Regions from separate parts of the Homo sapiens genome. Here region 2 is linked to region 1. Evidence: promoter capture Hi-C in 16 types of primary human blood cells and fetal thymus (Javierre and others, 2016). All regions are on one chromosome and are shown on one strand. Each heading gives the region's core, a stretch centred on a gene start or on the middle of the fragment in contact. The rest is flanking DNA. Distances are from core to core; before and after follow the strand shown. Region 1 holds the start of MISFA (mitochondrial sheath formation associated). Region 2 overlaps SAAL1 (serum amyloid A like 1).

Region 1 (4,717 bases), core at 716-3,215:
CAGTTTCAGTATCTGCCAAAAGGGACGTTAAAAATGCTGGTCCTGGCAAGGCACGGTGGTTTATGCCTGCAATCCCAGCACTCTGGGAGGCCAAGGCTGGGGGACCACTTGAGGCCTGGAGTTCAAGACCTGCCTGGGCAACATAGTGACACCTTGTCTCTAAAAAAATAAAAAAAAAATTAGCCAGGCATGGTGGCATGTGCCTGAGGATCAGCTACCCAAGAAGCTGAGATGGGAAGACTGCTTGCACCTCACTCCAGCCTGGGTGGCAGAGCAAGACCTGTTTCAGAAAAAAAAAAAAAAAAAAGAATGCTATTAATAGTATAATATATTACAGTGTTGTGAGGAGAAAAATAATAGATGGGAACAGTCTTCAAAACAACACCTATGAGACATGGTTATTAATAGACAACTTTGGCCTGCTGTCCTCAGCAGTACTCACCAAATCATTTCCCCTTCCACAGTTTATTATATTTTCCAGAGGAATAAACATTCTCCACTGAGACTTCAGGGTGCTACCAAGTACTTTGGAAAGGGAGGAATCCAACCCACCAGACCTGACCACCCACTTACTGCAGCAGATCTTCACCTAAAGCCCGCCTCCTCAGTTGTGTTTTGCTCTCCTGAACAGGCCACCTCTCCTGCCACTTCAGAGTTGGAGGCTGAATCAGAAAGAAAATTTGAGGGCAGAGATGGCTCTACTCATTGGCCCAGTGGGTAACCACTCTGTGTGGTGACCAGAAGGGCTGCTAAAAGGTCCCACCAATCCCTACCGTCCCCCTTCCTACCAATAACCACTGATCCACTTGGCCTGCAATCCGCAAGTCAAATACGGTCTCCAGCAGACCCCTTGCAAATTCCATAGTGCTTTGAAACAAGTACAGCTATATATGCAAGGGAGGGGGAAACAAAAAAAGACTTAAAAGGATGTCCTGGCCGGGCGCAGTGGCTCACGCCTGTAATCCCAGCACTTTGGGGAGCCGAGGCAGGCGGATCACGAAGTTAGGAGATCTAGACCATCCTGGCTAACACAGTGAAACCCCGTCTCTACTAAAAATACCAAAAATTAGCCAAGCATGGTGGTGGGAGCCTGTAGTCCCAGCTACTCGGGAGGCTGAGGCAGGAGAATGGCATGAACCCAGGAGGCAGAGCTTGCAGTGAGCCGAGATCGCACCACTGCATTCCAGCCTGGGCGACAGAGCAAGACTCCGTCTCCAAAAAAAAAAAAAAAAAAAAAAAAAGGATGTCCCCAGCCAGGCGTGGTGGCTCATGCCTGTAATCCCAGCACTTTGGGAGGCCGAGGTGGGTGGATCACCTGAGGTCAGGACTTTGAGACCAGCCTGACCAACATGGAGAAACCCTGTTTCTACTAAAAACACAAAATTCGCCAGGCGTGGTGGTGCATGCCTGTAATCCCAGCTGCTCAGGAGGCTGAGGCAGGAGAATCGCTTGAGCCTGAGAGGCGGAGGTTGCAGTGAGCCGAGATCGCGCCACTGCACTCCAGCCTGGGCAACAAGAGCAAAACTCCATCTCAAAAAATAATAATAATAATAAATAAAAAATAAAAAAGGATGTCCCTAGTGGGATGGGAAGTAGCCCGGTAGCCTGGGACACTAACTTTGTTCCCATCACATTCTGACTTCCAGTTAGTGGTGAGACCTCAACTATCTTTCCCATTTGGTCAGAAAACCCAGACAGGAAGATGAGCCAGCACAGGACTGACCACCAGGGATTTACAGGCAGAGCCATTACTTACCATCAACTCTGGAAACGTGCCCATGTAACACACAAGTCCAACAAAAAACATCCAGCCAAGCACAATCATGATCAAACGTAAAACAATTTCTAAGATAAAATTGCACAGTGAAAGACTATTCACCAAGATCTTGGCAAAGGAGTGCGCTCACGAAACCTTCAGTTGGTAGAGGTCTCGCATGTCTGTTCGAGTCTTTGGCTCCAAAGGATCCACAACTCCCTAGTGGAGAAGCTGAAATCTAGTAGGGCATTGTGACATCATTGACCATATGGCCCAGACTCAAAACACACCAGAGACACTGCCCCCAGACCAGCAGCTGAGCAGCAAACAGCAACACTATGAAGTAGGCATTATTGTTAACCCCATTTCACTAATCAGAAAACTAAGGCTTAGACTACAGCCTAAGTGACCCGCACTACAGCACATAGCTGATGCTCCAGATCAGGGCCAAGACTTAGGACTCAGCTGCCTCTTGGGCAGCTGGGCTCTTTACACTAGAGGCAGAGATTTGGAAAGGTGTTTTGCTGCTAGGTGTACGACATGTGAACGAAACAAACTGAATTACAGGTAAATGAGACAGATGTCTCTATTTCTGTCCCTGCAAAACCTCCTCTCCCCATGTCAAGGGGATCCTCAGCATGATGGTATATCCACATCTTCATCACCTTGGATTAGTTCCTCTCCATTGATTCTCTTTTCTTGGCCATCATGAAGCCACAGGTACCCCTGTCCTTTCCTCAAAAAAACTTCCAGATGATACTGTGGCTCCTTCCCTGTCTTATTTCTTAATTTCCTTTTATGACCAAACTTCCTAAACAAGTGGTCCATACTCAAAGCTTTTTCCAATCTACGCCTCTTCCATGCATTACATTCTGACTTCTAGCCCCACCCCACTATTAGACACCCTCTCAGAGGTCACCAAAGATATTTTTTGCTTTTCTGCTACAACATCATGGACATTTAATGTATTTTTCATCTCTACAATTTTTTTTTTTTTGAGACAGAGTCTTGCTCTGTCGCCCAGGCTGGAGTGCAGTGGTGCAATCTCAGCTCACTGCAACCTCCGCCTCCTGGGCTCAAGTGATTCTCCTGCCTCAGCCTCCCAAGTAGCTGGGATTAGAGGCACCCGCCACCACGCCTGGCTAATTTTTGTATTTTTAGTAGAGATGGTGTTTCACCATGTTGGCCAGGCTGGTCTCGAACTCCTGACCTCAGGTGATCCACCCGCCTCAGCCTCTCAAAGTCCTGGGATTACAGGCATGAGCCACCGCGCCTGGCCTGTTGTGATATTTCCTGCTTCTTTAAATGTCTTACAACTTTTGATTAGATGTTGAACATGGTAAATTTTATTGCCGAGTGCTGGATTTTGTTGTATTCAACAGTGTTAAATTTTATTCTAAGGTGCACTTAAGTTACTTGCGATCAGTTTGATTCTTCTGAGGCTTGTTTGAAGCTTTATGATAGGCCAGGAGCAGCCTTTACTCTAGGGTTAATATCCGCACTGCTGAGTTAATGACCATTTTCTCTGAGCACCTTCTCTGAGGCTGATTGTATTAGAGCTTTTTTTTTTTTTTTTTTTTTTTTTTGGAGACAGAGCTTTGCTCTTGTTGCCCAAGCTGGAGTGCAAGGGCGTGATCTTGGCTCACTGCAACCTCCGCCTCCTGGGTTCAAGTGATTCTCCTGCCTCAGCCTCCTGAGTAGCTGGGATTACAGGCATGCACCACCACGCCCGGCTAATTTTGTATTTTTAGTAGAGACAGGGTTTCTCCACGTTGGTTAGTCTGGTCTCGAACTCCTGACCTCAGGTGATCCGCCCGCCTCAGTCTCCCAAAGTGCTGGGATTACAGGTGTGAGCCACTGTGCCCGGCATAGATCTTCCAAATCTGTGGAATGTTCCACAATTCCCTGCCCTTCAGGAACTCCAAGAAGTGTTTGGCCGACTGCTTTTGGGTGGATCTTTTCCAGGCCTCATCGAGTTTTATCCCATATATGTGCAGACAGAACTCAGCCAAAGACTTATAAGGGCCCCTGTGGAAATCTACAGAGCTTTCTCCATGGAGATCCCTCTTCTTAGCACTCCATCCTGCAAATTCTGGCCTCTGCTGTATTTTGCTATCTTTCTCTTCAACTCAGTGAAATGCTCAGTTGGGTAACTCCTTTCTGTGCCACAGTCTGAAAACTGCCTCCTGGCTGGAGCAATTGTAGGACTCACCGTCACTGGTTTCCTTTCTCTCAAAGTACACAGTTTTGTGCTGTCTCTTGTACAAGATCTGAAAACAATTATTTCATGTTTTGTGCAATTTTCTATTTATGAAGAGAAGGTAATTTCTGTAACAGTTGATCCTTCACAGGCAGAAGCAGAAGTGTATGTTCTTCTTTTTGGAGACAGTCTTGCTTTGTTGTCAAGGCTGGAGTGCAGTGGCACAGTCACAGATCACTGCAGCCTTGAACTCCTGGGCTCAAGCAATCCTCCCACCTCAGCCTCCCAAGTAGCTGGGACTACAAGTGCGCACCACCATGCCTGGCTAATTTTTTTTTTTTTTTGTAAAGGCAGGGTCTTGCTATGTTGACCAGGCAGGTCTCAAACTCCTGGGCTCAAGTAAGCCTCTTGCCTCGTCCTCCCAAAGGGCTGAGATTACAGGCATAAGCCACTGTGCCTAGCTTAGGTTATTCTTTTTTAATTCTTGCACAATATTCTAGTTTATTTCATCTTGCTCCCAATGATACAGTAGGTCAAGTCCAGTCAGGAGACAGAAAACCAGACAGTAATTTGAAAATTTTAATAAAGAGAATTATCAACTAGGAGCAAGTGACCGACTATAGAAGGGGTAGAAAGTGTTACATATTACAGGAATAGCATATATAGGGAGCAGCCACTACCTCTAGGGCTGAGGCAAAGTACCCAAGGAAGAAATAAATTTGGAATAGTCCCCTCCCCTCCAGGGCTGAGATCCAAAACAT
Region 2 (4,717 bases), core at 761-3,260, 520 kb after region 1:
CCAGGAGTTTGAGACCAGTTTGGGCAACATGGCAAAACCTCATCTCTACAAAAAATACAAAAATTAGCTGGGCATGGTGGCACACGCCTGTGATCCTAGCTACTTGGGAGGCAAAGATGGAAGGATTGCTTGAGCCCAGGAGGTCGAGGCTGCAGTGAGCCCAGACTGTGCCACTACACTCCAACCTGAGCGACAGAGTGAGACCCTATCTCAAAAAACAAAATGAAACAAAAAGTTTCTCTTATTCTGGTGATTTTTTTTTTATTAGTTGTCTTGCTTCCCTTTTCCATATTTGTATTTTCCAGATTTGGGGTTATTACCTTAGCAGGTTTTATATAATTTAAATTACTGGATTCAACATTATAAATGTGAAGATGGCTAAGTCATGATGGCCATATTTTGTCAAAATGCTATTTATATGTGAAAATGTTGGTTTTACTTGACGCTTATTATTGGGTATTATAATTTTTATGTCAAAGTTCAGGTAATAAATTGTGTCTTACTTTGATTTGCATTTTTAAATTAATGAGATTGAAATATTTGGATGTCGTATGTTAATTTGTTTCCTACCTTTTAATAATTTATCCATTTTGATTATTTGTATGAATTTCTTGGGTAATAATGTATCTTTTCCATATTTATCGCATGTATTTTTTTCCCATTCTTTGCTGTTGTTTCTGTTTTTTGGAGCAAGGGACATCGATATTTCTTAACTTTTAAGTGGTGGGAACATCAAAGAAAGGTGGGCTGAGAATACACGAGTGCTATGTCATGCAAATTCTTATGTCATATTTAGGGGATTTAGACTTCATCTTGAAAAAGCTGAGGAACTACTAAAGATTTTTTACTTTTAAGCACCAAGTGATACGATCAGTTTAGAAAGATTACTCCAAAAGCAATAGAGAGGAAGGAGTAGAGAGAGTTGAGGCTGGAGGGCAGGAGATCAACTAACAGGCTCTTGTGGTTGGTAATCTTCAAGAATAATCTGAAAAATGATGGCAGCCTAAACAATGGAAGTTTGAATGGAGAGGAGGGATGGGGGTAAGAGAGATTTGGTAGAATAGAATTGAGCACTTGCCGGGAGGAGTCAGCAGGAGGGGAGAAGGAAAAGTCTTGGCTGTGTTCCAAGTTTGTAGTCTGTGTAGCAGGGTGGATGGTGGTGCCCTTCACTAAAGTAAAGACGACAGTGGAGAACATGTTTGGGTTACATAAGCCTCCTTGATGTTGGTGGGTTCAGGTGGGACATTTGAAATGCCTATGAAGTCAGGAGGGAATTGAATATCCTGATTTGTTTTTATTCACTAGTTAAAGCTTGAAAAATTTTCCTTTTTTGACATTAAATCTTGTTGTTGTTTTAGGAGACGGTGGCTCAGGGAGTAAAGGAAGGCCAGTTGAGCAAACAGAAGTGTTCCTCTGCATTTCAAAACCTTCTTCCTTTCTATAGCCCTGTGGTGAGTATGGGTAAATGTATATAGGTGGCCAAGTTTTGTAGGATTACTAAATGTTTTCAAGTAAGCACTTGATTTCGAGGTCATTGTCAAAAATGATAGTATATACAATTTATATGACTTAATGCCTTTGTCAGATAGATGACTGCTGGAAACAGAAAACCAAATACCGTATGTTCTCACTTGGAAGTAGGAGCTAAACCATTGGATACTATGGACATACAAATGGGAGCAGTAGACACTGGGGACCACAGGAGGAGGGGAGGGAGAGAGGGAGGGCAAGGGCTGAAAAACTACCTATTGGGTACTAAGCTCACTGCCTGGGTAACAGGTTCATCTGTGCCTCAAACCTCGGCATCATGTAATATACCTTTATAACAAACCTGCACATTTAGACTCCCCTGAGTCTACAATAAAAGTTGAGGGAAAAAAAGATGACTACTGGAAAATTCATAATAGTATTGGGAGTAACAATTCTAAGAGGAAAAAAATAAGCTCTGAATTTATAGTACTCCTTTCTGTTATGAAGTAGATAACATCTATATTAAGCCAAAATCAGATTCTTGGGAATAGTCAGTAGGTTTTTATGGTTCTTCAAATGACATCACATTTCCTACCATTAGAATCAGATTTCAAAATAGGAACTTTTTCAGGAAAATGAAGGACAGAATGTGGGAACAGACTGTAAAGAAGAGGCGGGGGGAGAAGTACTAGCTCAAGAGTAAAACGGAATGGGAAAGCATAGTCATTTCCTTGAGAATGATTTAGAAGACTGCTTAGGAAGTACTGTTACTATCATCTGGAGATCTGCCAGCATTTCTTTTCCATTGGACCATTTAGAAACCACAGGTAGAGCAATCAGTACCTTAAAGCACGTTTTTCTCTTCTGTGTTTGATTTTTGTTTGTTTGTTTGACTCACAGGTGGAAGATTTTATTAAAATCCTACGTGAAGTTGATAAGGCGCTTGCTGATGACTTGGAAAAAAACTTCCCAAGTTTGAAGGTTCAGACTTAAAACCTGAATTGGAATTACTTCTGTACAAGAAATAAACTTTATTTTTCTCACTGACAGTTGAAATTGACTTATTGGAAATATTAACTAAAGCCCATATTAGACCATAATTGTCTGGTGTTAACATTTTTCTGTCCTAGACTTGTCTCACTTTTTTTGACTTTGGAATCTGAGGTTTCACCACTGTCACCCCTCTTTTTATGTGATATTTATCATCCTCAGTTGAGGAAAGCAAAAATGTAAGCTTATCATTGAGGTTCTTTTTAGGATATGTGCGAGATCAGTGTTGATTTTCTTCATAGCTGTTAATTTTGTTTGTTTGTTTGTTTGTTTTGAGACAGAGTCTCACTCTGTCGCCCAGGCTGAAGTGCAGTGGTGCGATCTCAGCTCACTGCAAGCTCCGCCTCCTGGGTTTATGCCATTCTCCTGCCTCAGCCTCCCGAGTAACTGGGACCACAGGTGCCCGCCACCACGCCTGGCTAATTTTTTGTATTTTTAGTAGAGACAGGGTTTCACTGTGTTAGCCAGGATGGTCTCGATCTGACCTCGTGATCTGCCCGCCTTGGCCTCCCAAAGTGCTGGGATTACAGGCGTGAGCCACCGTGCCCAGCCTAATTTGATTTTTTTAAGTGAGAATTACGTCTTTGTATCCACTGTTAAGTATATTCAGCTGCAGTAACAGAAACCCTCCTGTAGCAGCTGAATCTGATCTCTTTCAGGAACCTTATGCAAAAATCCAGATGTAATGAGGTGGCTCCTTTCACCCTTCACGTGGTCTGCCAGGTAGGCCTTTGCGTTCATGTTTATTGCCTTGTGGTTAAGGGGGCTGTGCCATCTCTGGGCCTTTATCCACATTCAGGAAGAAAAAGGGAGAAAGAGAAGGGGCTTTTTCCTACCAAGTCTTTATGTGTGTTTGGCTGGGTTGGGGGGGTGCTTTTTAATAGATTTTTAAGAAAATATCTGTTAGGAATAACAAAGCCAGCTTTCTGAACCTCACTTTTGGTATAGCCCCTTCCCAATTTATATCAGTTTTTTGGCTTTAAAGCATTGGTCTTGCCTCATACTTTGTTTTCTTTCCTTGAGAGATTTTTGGTGATAAAACCAGATTTTTGGTGATAAAAACAGTAATCTTATTGGTAAGAGATAATATGATTTCCAGTTTAGAGGTAGGTTTATGGTTGGAAGTGTCACTGCTGAAAAGAACTGGAACATAAAAGTAAAATCTTACAGGTGAAATCTCATTGGTAGGTTTATATATACTACACTGTATGTATATTCGCATGTCCTCAGTGCTGACCTTATTGGTAGACTGAATTGACTATATTCAGTATGAGATTTCAAAGGCACTGATGAAATCACTCCTACCTGCTAGCTGACACGAAAATTCCACTCTTGGTTTTTTTTTTGTTTAAGTTTAAGCTTAAGATGCAAACACTGATTAAGAATAATACTTGAGGTTATTAGTTATGTTTACCTCAGTGCATATGAATTTCACTTTTTTTCTGAGAGCATGTTTTTTGTTGTTTTTTTGTTTGTTTGTTTTTAATTTTTTTTCTTTTTTTTTGAGACGGAGTCTTGCTCTATCGCCCAGGCTGGAGTGCAGTGGCGGGATCTCGGCTCACTGCAAGCTCCGCCTCCCGGGTTCACGCCATTCTCCTGGCTCAGCCTCTCGAGTAGCTGGGACTACAGGCACCAGCCACCACGCCCAGCTAATTTTTTAAATATTTTTAGTAGAGACGGGGTTTCACCGTGTTAGCCAGGATGGTCTCGACCTGACTTCATGATCCGCCCGCCTCGGCCTCCCAAAGTGCTGGGATTACAGGCGTGAGCCACCACGCCCAGCCTTCTGAGAGCGTGTTTTAAAACGGGAAGCACAAGGACCTTATGTACCTGAAGGAGTGTTCCACAAAAATGGCAAATTACAGAGGGAGGAGGAGAAAGGATAGTAGTGGGAAGGCAAGGAGTGTCCAATTTATTTTCTGCTCACATTTCTGTCTTGGACCTACACTGTTTACTTTGTTACTTCTTTATTGTTAGCATTATGAGTTTTGGTACATATTTTCATAGTACTTTGGTATGTTTGAAAACATCCTATATCTATAAATTATGATACTTTTAAGTGACCAGTGTTAAAGCATTTTTAATGCTGCATGTTCTGAAGAATTCACTCACAAGATTTAGTGCTTGAATCAGTTGCAGTGATATTTTGAAATGGTGCTTTCTCCAGAACCATAAATATGAAATTTTATATACAGAT

Evidence for each region. Contacts are between HindIII fragments. The CHiCAGO score rates a contact against its expected background, and 5 or more counts as called.
Region 2: a fragment that was not itself captured here is called in contact with the fragment with the promoter of MISFA in region 1 in 1 of 17 cell types (total B cells); the score reaches 5.2 in total B cells.

The regions. Positions count from the first base shown.
Region 1 is chr11:18,597,037-18,601,753 of GRCh38, reverse strand. MISFA (mitochondrial sheath formation associated) reads right to left here and starts at 1,965. Exons shown (of 4, transcript NM_001355570.4): 1 at 1,757-1,965; 2 at 574-662. The coding sequence starts at 1,825. LOC112268073 (a long non-coding RNA gene) reads left to right here and starts at 2,207. Exons shown (of 4, transcript XR_002957242.2): 1 at 2,207-2,323. The HindIII fragment of the contact is 4,225 bases long and covers 1-2,594 here.
Region 2 is chr11:18,078,145-18,082,861 of GRCh38, reverse strand. It overlaps SAAL1 (serum amyloid A like 1), which reads left to right. Exons shown (of 12, transcript NM_138421.3): 11 at 1,359-1,451; 12 at 2,371-2,570. The coding sequence ends at 2,463. Among named protein-coding and RNA genes, the nearest start is that of SAAL1, 26 kb to the left of the region's middle. The HindIII fragment of the contact is 1,393 bases long and covers 1,314-2,706 here.